2 separate regions of the Homo sapiens genome follow, and region 1 is linked to region 2. Evidence: promoter capture Hi-C in human tissues and cell types (Jung and others, 2019). All regions are on one chromosome and are shown on one strand. Each heading gives the region's core, a stretch centred on a gene start or on the middle of the fragment in contact. The rest is flanking DNA. Distances are from core to core; before and after follow the strand shown.

Region 1 (4,320 bases), core at 396-2,895, 430 kb before region 2:
CACGCATCCGTGGCGGGCATTCCTCTGACTGCTCCCACCAACACCTAAGCTTTCACTCCAGCAAGACCCCAACCTCAGGATGGTCCGGCAACTCTTGGGTGGGACAAGGGTCCAGCCCCGCCAGGCTACCAGCCCCTGCCCATCGAACCAGTCAAAGTGCGCTCTCTCTTGTATGCTCCAATCTGTCCCTCCCGAGGCTGTGTCCCAGGCTGGAGAGGCTAAGTGGGTGACAACCAACTTGGCCTCCTACAAGAACCCACAGGGAGGTCGGGTGCAATGGCTTGCATCTGTAATCCTACCACTTTGGGAGGCTGAGGCGGGCAGCTCACGTGAGGCCAGGAGTTCGAGACCAGCCTGGCCAACATGGCAAAACCCCGTCTGTATTTTTAAAAAATACACAAACTGTTGTATTTTCTATTTGTATTGTATTGTAGTGGACAGGGCCTGTTATCCCAGCTACTCCGGAGGCTGAGGTGGGAGGATCACTTGAACCCGGGAGGTGGAGGTTGCAGTGCGGCCGAGATCACACCACTGCACTCCAGCCTGGGCGACAGAGCAAGACATCATCTAAAGAAAAAAAAAAAAAAAAAAACCCACAGGGCATGCCAGCGACCCCTACAATCGAAACTGAAAAAGCAAGAGGAGACCGTTCTCGCTTCGACCTCCGTCCAGCTCAGCAACTCCCTGCTGGACACACCCCTACCTCCTTGTGAACCCTGCACTCTCTCTGACCCAGAATTGCAGAAAAGCAGATTATAAAAAATAAACAGAGGAGCGCTCTGCAGAGCCAGGTGAATCCCACAGCCACCGTCCTGCTGGAGCCAGGCCCACTGAATTCCTCACTGCTCCATGAGTCCGTTTCTCTCATCCAGGACAGTGGAGTTTTCGACACAGGCACGATGGAGTGAAGTTGCCCATTTGACCATTCCCAGACCAGGCACGGCAGCTCATGCCTCTAATCCCAGCACTTTGGGAGGCCGAGGCAGGCGGATCACCTGAGGTCAGGAGCTCAAGACCAGCCTGGCCAATGTGGTGAAACCCCGTCTCTACTAAAAATAACAACATTAGCTGGGTGTGGTGGTGCGTGCCTGTAACCCCAGCTACTCAGGAGGCTGAGGCAGGACAATCACTTGAACCCGGGAGGCGGAGGTCGCAGTGAGCCGAGATCATGCCACCGTACTCCAGCCTGGGCAAAAACAGCAAAACTCCATCTCAAAATAATAATAATAATAGTAATAATTAATAAATAAATAAAACGGACATTCCCTCACACGTGCCAAGAGTGAACACACCAGCTCGGAGCACCCCAGAGACATCAGAGACAGAGCACATCTCTGACCTCCAGCTCCACCCCATCCACGTCCACCTGAAAGTGGGGAATTCTTTCAGCTACCACCCAAACTGCATCCACAGACCCCAATCCCTCAGAAGATCAAAAGAACAGCAATCTCCCCCGACTTCCCTGAACCCCCTTCACTTTTCCAAAATGAGCAGAGATTGAGAGAGCAAAAGAAAGCCCCTCCCTTCCCCCTCAGAGTGATGAGTCTCTGGCACTGTCTCTTCCTGCTTGTGCCCACACACTGGCCAGGAGCCTAGGCTACACTGCTCTGATCACACCCATCCCAATCAAAGAAGCACTGAAACCACGACACTCTCATATGTCCTCAGCACAGAAGGCATGAGCCAGCTGCTTAACTCACACCCACAGGGAGCATGAGTCCTGGTGACCTGCTAGCCTAGGACAGACGAAACACACGCACCCTGAAAAAACTAGCAGCTTAATTCCGTGCCAGGTGCCACGTTCAGCTCTCTGCCCACGTAAGCTCACTTAAGGCCCCCAACGACCCCGTAAAGCAGGTGACGATATCTTAACTCTGAGTCCATAAACACTTTTTATTTCCTTAAGAAAACATGCTTTACGGTATCAATAAACACGGCGACTTTTCGCCCTTGACAGTCAAACTCCCCCTTCTCCGCCCATGAACCGGCCAGAGCCAATCAAAAGCCCCAGACACACAGAACCAGGCAGCTGCCAATGCAAAAGCTCTCCACCCGCCCCAGGGCCTGGGGATTCCCAGAACAAACACCACTGACACTGACATGGGCCAGAACCCAGGAAGCTCCCTCCTTCTGGCCTCCCTGCAGCTAGCCACAAACTTAGCACCTGTCCGCCCTGGGCATGAGGTGCTCTGTCCACAGATACTGAGCAAGCACCCACTACCTGCCAGGCAGCAGGTTCTGGGCCACAAGAGGCCATAACCATGAGGACGCTCCAATCTGACAGTCTCTTGTTAAATGAGATAAAACTCCATTCTTCAGTCCCATCAGGAATGCTCCATTTCAAGAGCTCAATAGCAGCTAGGCAAGGCAGCTCACGCCTGTAATCCCAGCACTTTGGGAGGCTGAGGCAGGAGGATCTCTTGATCCCAGGAGTTTAAGACCAGCATGGGCAACACAGCAACACTCAGCCTCTATAAAAATAAAAATAGTAGTAGTGTGCGCCTATGGTCCCAGCTATTCGGGAGGCTAAAGTGGGATGCTTGCTTAAGGCCAGGAGTTCCAGACTAGCCTGGAAAACAGGGAGACCCCATCTCTACGAAAATAAAAATAAATTAGCTGCACGTGGTGGTACACAGCTGTAGTCCCAGATACTCAGGAGGTTCAGAGGGGAGGATTGCTTGAGCCCAGGCACCAGCCTGGGAAACACTGCAAGACCCTGTCTCTACAAAAAATTTTAAAAATTAGCCGGGTGTGGTGGTGCTCACCTAGTCCCAGCTACTCGGAGGGCTAAGGCAGGAAGATCACTTGAGCCCAGGAGCTCGAGGCTGCAGTGAGTTATGATGGCCCCACTGCACTCCAGCCTAAGCAATAAGAAGAGACCCTGTCTCAAAAAACGCACGGCACAGTAGCTCACGCCCATAATCCCAGCACTTTGCAGGCCGAGGCAGGTGGATCACCTGAGGTCAGGAGTTTAGGACCAGCCTGGCCAACATGGCAAAACCCCGTCTCTACTAAAAATACAAAATTAGCTGGGTGTGGTGGCACAAGCCTGTAGTCCCAGTTACTCGGGAGGCAGAGCCAAGGGAATCGCTTGAACCCAGGAGCTAGAAGTTGCAGTGAGCCAAGATCGCACCACTGCACTCCAGCCTGGACGACAGAGTGAGACTCCGTCTCAAATTAAAAAAAAAAAAAAAAGAAAGAAAATAGTGGGACACAGCCATGATGGCAGCAGGTTCCAGTGGGTAGGTGGGTCGGGCCGAACCAGGTTTAACCCCGAGTCGCCTCTCCGCACCCGAGCGCACACACTCCCCTCTGGCTCTCGGGCCACATCATCCCCAGTAACAACATGGGGGTACCACTGTCAGAGCTGCCACAGACACAGTAACGCCAATGAACCCCTGCATCCATAGCCGAGCACGGTGGGCGCTCCATAAACACTGCTTCCGCCAACACTTCGCGACAAAGCCGTGGTCCGCAACAGACGGCATGCTTCCTGTGGGTAGGGGAGTCCGGTCACCTCTAGGACCCTCAAGAGCAGTCGCGCTCCAGGCCTCTCTAGGCCAAACAGCCGCAAACTCTATGACGCACAAGGCTTCCTCGCCTATGACATCCGGTAGGCAAATGGCGGGCGGGCAAGACAGGGCCGGCGGAGGTCGGCTCCCAACCGCCAATCACGGGCGCCCACCAATCACAAGCACCTGCCTGGCATCACACCCGCCAGTCACAGGCATATCCGCTTCAGGCGGCCTCCCCCCCCACTTCCGGCTTGGAGGCCATGCCAAGCTCAGGCACTGTAGTGCGCCCCAGAGAGAGAGCGAGAGCGAGAGAGAGAGTGAGGGGCGGGGGGGGAAGGAGGACGGTGGAGAGAAGAGGGGAGAAAAGGAGAGAAGCAGCGGACCAGAGGTGGCGCGGCATACGCTACTTACTGTAAGAGTAGCTGCTCACTTCCGAGGCAAACGGGGAATGGGCCGACTTGGGCTGGCCTCTGGCCTTGAACCCCACCTCCATCTTCCTGGTTTTGGCTGCCCTTTTGTGTTTACCTTCTCTGGAGGATTTCAGAGACAGGCCGAGGCCCTTGGCCAGCGCCTTCCTGTTCTTCCCCAGCAGGCTGTCGTAAGGAGTCAAGTACCTGCCGCAGCCCCCGCTAGTTTTCGATTTCCCCCCAGCACTGTCCGAAAACTTGAAGGGCGACTTCAACTTGTCCTGCTTGGTGAGGGAGAGGGCCTTGTCGAGCTTGCTTGCCAACTGCTCCTGGTCGCTGGCCATCTTCTTCTTCTTAATCTTTAGCTGGAGAGGGAAGGTGGGTCATGGGTTAAAAGA
Region 2 (4,542 bases), core at 1,882-4,381:
GTCACTTGATCCCAAAGCCCCAGGACATAGCATATCGGATGGCACAGTAGATGATCTTCAATAGTAGATGTACTTTCAGAATAAATAGCACTCACTAATTATAGAAGGATAATTAGTGGCATGAACTCTGGGTCCAAACTGAGTTCAAGTTCCACGCTGACCCTTACAAGTTTTGGGACTAGATATTTTTCAGCACCTCAGTTTCTTTTTTTAAAATTATTATTATTTTTGAGACGGAGTCTCGCTCTGTCACCCAGGCTGGAGTGCAGTGGCACAATCTCGGATCACTGCAACCTCCGCCTCCCGAGTTCATGTGATTCTCCTGCCTCAGCCTCCCCAGTAGCTGGGATTACAGGCGCACGCCATCACACCTGGCTAATTTTTGTATTTTTAGTAGAGACGGGGTTTCACCATGTTGGCCAGGCTGGTCTCGAACTCCTGACCTTAGGTGATCTGCCCGCCTCGGCCTCCCAAAGTGCTGGGATTACGGGCGTGAGCCACACCATTCCCAACTATGTTCTATTATCTTTAACAATAATGCAAATATAATGATATCAGGTATGAGAATGAATTATGTCTCTAAAGAGCTAGAATATAGCAATGCCTAGAATTTTGTAAACACATTAAATAGTAGCTGGTAGTAGAATCAGCAAATACCAGCTCTCTCAACTATCCTATTCATCAACTTTCGATCTGCCTCACTCACACCTAACCCTTCTTTATCAGATTTCTCCACAGGGGCTTCAGGAGTTCTCTTTTATTAGCTGCTGCTGCTCTAATCAGGGTAAAAATCTAAAGCCTCGAATGAGGTTTGCCAGGGGGTCCAAAATCTGGCCCAGACTCTCCAGGCATTTCCTCAAATCCACCACTACTCCCCACACCCCAGGCGCAATAAATTATGAAATACAAAACCAAGGCAAAGCCAGGCCATGTATTAGCCTTCTTCCTTAAAGCAAGCCGACTAAATTGAGATGTTTCATAGAATCTTCCCGCTTCTCTCCCTTCTCAGCGCGTAAAGAATGTTCTGGCAGAGCACGGTGGCTAAAGCCTGTAATTCTTGTGCTTTGGGAGGCTGAGGGTCACTTAAACCCAGGAGTTGGGCAGCACAGCTAGACTCCGTCTCTTAAAAAAAAAAAAAAAAAAAAAAGTTAGCCGAGCGTGGTGGTGCGCGCCTGTAATTCCAGCTACTCGGGAGGCTGAGGCAGGAGAATTACTTGAAGCTGGCAGGCGGAGGGTGCAGTGGGCAGAGATGGCACCACTGCACTTTAGCCTGGGAAATACAGCCAGACTCCGCCTCAAAAAAAAAAAAAAAATGCTCAATGAATGGGCTGGGGTGGGTGGGGCAGAGAGGAGCTGACGGGACATACTACATCTAAAACGCCACTGTTTCCGAGGGACGCGGATATGCTCTGGTCCCCCACCTACATCCCATTCAGTAAACAAAGGTACCCACCGAAACATACAGCAGCACAAACCCATTTTTATAAGACCCTGTGCCTGACTATTGCAGGAAGATGGAGGACAAACAACAGCTGGAGAATAGATGAGCTGATGTTTGGCTCCTAACCTCTAAAACAATGCCAACCCAGCCCCTTCCAGGAGTAACAGCTTGAAAACAATACATGGCATTTAGATAGTTTTTAGCATTCCTGGCAATTCCGTTACTAATTCATGGGTCTTCCTCACAAGGGAAGAAACCCCATTTTTGAGGCACAGGCCCACCAGGGCAAAATGACCTGGCCAGGCTGGAGCCAGGTGCATGTGAGGGCCACTGTGAGGCCCTCTGCTCTGCTCACCCTCTACGTCACAGTGCTTCTTCTGTAGGTGAACGTGTGGGTTTTCAGCCAGGGCGCTTCTTACTGAAGGGCCCGAGGGTCCCGGAGAACATATCTGAAACGTCTTTTGAAAAGACTGTAGCACTTTGGGAGGCCGAGGCGGAGGGATCACCTGAGGTCAGACGTTAGAGACCAGCCTGGCCAACACGGAGAAATCCCGTCTCTACTAAAAATACAAAAATTAGCTGGACGTGGTGGCAAATGCCTGTAATCCCAGCTGAGGCAATCCCTGTGAGGCTGAGGCAGGAAAATCGCTTGAATCCGGGAGGCAGAGCTTGCAGTGAGCCGGGATCGCGCCACTGCACTCCAGCCTGGGCAACAGAGCAAGACTCCGTCTCAAAGAAAAGGAGAAAAAAAAAAAAGTAAAAGAAAAAAGAACGTTCTCTTTGCACGATCTAAGTACCTAGGACAGCTGCTACCCAGGCCCTTAGGGATTTACAGAGCCCTGTCGGATTTGTCAGAAATTTCTGTAACCCGCACGCCGCGCACGCTCCAGGGTTGGTTGCAAGTGGCCCAGAGTCTTGGATCCCTGGTCCTGTTCCACCGGGAGCAGAACCACCTCGACGCGGGGACAGCGGCCTCGCTCGCTGCCCAGCGCCCGGACACCCGAGCCGGGCCAGCCCCCAGCGCCCCGCAGAAGGGTTTGACGCACTTGCGGCGCCCTCGCGAGTGCCGGGTGACAGTCGCCAACTTTCGCGGAACACGCGCTCCAGATGTGAGGGAAGAGGAGGAAAAACGCCGCCCGCCTGGGCTGGGGTTCACAGGCACGGCCCGCCTCCCGCCGCTCCTCCAGGCCGCGCTCGGGTGCACGGACACCGCCTCCGCGGCGGCCTCGGGCCCGGGGGAGGGAAGCGCGGTCTCCCGGGCTGTTGCCCTCGCGCAGCAGACCCGAGGGGCCGGCCCGCGAAACTTCGCGAAGTGGCGAGAGGGGGCCACCCGGCCGCTCAGCGCCTTTGTCGCTCCAGCCTCGCCACCGCACCGGGCTCGAGACGCCCAGCCCAGCCCCTTGGCCCGATCCCGCCCGGGCCTCGGCCCGCGCCCCTCAGCTCGGCGGCCCTCACGGCCCGCGCCCCCGCCCCCACCCCCGGAGCTCCACAGAGGCGCCCCTCAGAGAGGCCGCGTCGCCTCACAGACCCGCCCAGGAGCTCGAGCGCGCCCCGCAGCCGACACTCACTCGTCACTCAAGTCGCCGGCTAGCCAGGCAGGTTCGGCGGCCTTCGCTACCGCGCCGCTTACTCCTCAGAAGCCGCAGCTGCGAGCTCCGTGGCAGCCGCTGCACTCCTTCCGGCCCTGCCGCGGCGTCACCTCGCGCCTGCGCACAGCGCCCCCTCCCGACTAAGGACAGGAAGAACCATAGAGGCACTCCGGGTACTGCGGAGGAGGGACCGGGGGGCTCACCATAGAGAGGGCCGCCTAGTCGCGCCTGCATCCGGGCTCTCCGCCTGCGGAGACTTGACTCCCCCACGAGGCAGGAGGGTGAAAGGAAAGGAGACCCCCATATCCGACCCCACAAGGAGCCACCATCTCCCCAGAGCTGAAAAGGGTATGGGGCAGGTGGTTGTGGATGTTTACTCGATATCTACTGATTTGCCCTAATTCGTTTGGCAAGTCATTCATTCATTCTGCAAATATATTCTGCGGATTTCCTGTGGGCCACACACTGTTCTAGGAATTGGGGAAATTAAGAGTAAAGTGGGTCCCATGGCTGGGCACAGTGGCTCACGCCTGTAATCCCAGCACTTTGGGAGGCCAAGGCGGGTGGATCACTTGAGGTCAGACGTTGGAGACCAGCCTGGCCAACATGGTGAAACCCGTCTCTACCAAAAATAAAAAAATTAGCCAGGCATGGTGGCGGATGCCTGTAATCCCAGCTACTCAGGAGGCTGAGGCGGGAAAATCACTTGAACCTGGGAGGCGGAGGTTGTAGTGAGCCAACATGGCGCCCCTGCACTCCAGCCTGGGCAACAGAGCAACCCTCCATCTCGAAAAAAAAAAAAAGTAAAATGTGTTCCTGGCCTCAGGAAGTTTAGGTTTTAGTGAGCAAGTGAATAACTGACTAAAATACTGCTCCTGCTGGGCACAGTGGCTCATGTCCATAATCCCCGCGCTTTGGAAGGCCAAGGCAGGAGGATCGCTTGAGGCCAGGAGTTCAAGACCAGCCTTAGCAAAATAGCAAGACCCCAACTCTTAAAATAATTGCTGGCCAGGCGTGGTGGTTCACGCCTGTAATCCCAGCACATTGGGAGGCCGAGGCAGGCAGATCACTTGAGGTCAGGAGTTCGAGACCAGCCTGGCCACCATGGTGAAACCCCGTCTCTACTAAAAATACAAAAATTAGCTGGGCATGGTGGTGCGTGCCTGTAATCCGAGCTACTCGGGAGGCCGAGGCACAAGAATTGCTTGAACCGAGGAGGGGGAGGTTGTAGTGCAGTGATTATGCCACTGCACTTCAGCCTGGGTAACAGAGTGAGACTGTGTCTCAAAAAAAAAAAAATTGCCAAGTACACCTTCAAGTAGAGATATCAAGTCAGTAATTAGATAAATGAGTCTGGGCTGGGCATAGTGGCTTATACCTGGAATCCGAACATTTTGGGAAATGGAGGTGGGAGGATGGCTTGAAGCCAGGAGTTTGAGACGATCCTGGGCAATAGAGTAAGACCCCATCTTTACAAAAATAAAAATTAGCCGGGCATGGTGGTGCGCACCT

Evidence for each region. Contacts are between HindIII fragments. The study calls those that stand out against the background at their distance.
Region 1: a fragment that was not itself captured here is called in contact with the fragment with the promoter of RNF216 in region 2 in 1 of the 25 tissues and cell types used here (dorsolateral prefrontal cortex).

What each region holds. Positions count from the first base shown.
Region 1 is chr7:5,352,990-5,357,309 of GRCh38, forward strand. It overlaps TNRC18 (trinucleotide repeat containing 18), which reads right to left. Exons shown (of 30, transcript NM_001080495.3): 16 at 3,927-4,287. Among named protein-coding and RNA genes, the nearest start is that of TNRC18-AS1, 64 kb to the right of the region's middle. RefSeq lists an enhancer at 3,134-3,636. The HindIII fragment of the contact is 4,908 bases long and covers 1-4,099 here.
Region 2 is chr7:5,778,532-5,783,073 of GRCh38, forward strand. It overlaps RNF216 (ring finger protein 216), which reads right to left and starts at 3,132. Exons shown (of 17, transcript NM_207111.4): 1 at 3,010-3,132. RefSeq lists a silencer at 2,541-2,930. The HindIII fragment of the contact is 32,599 bases long and covers 1-4,542 here.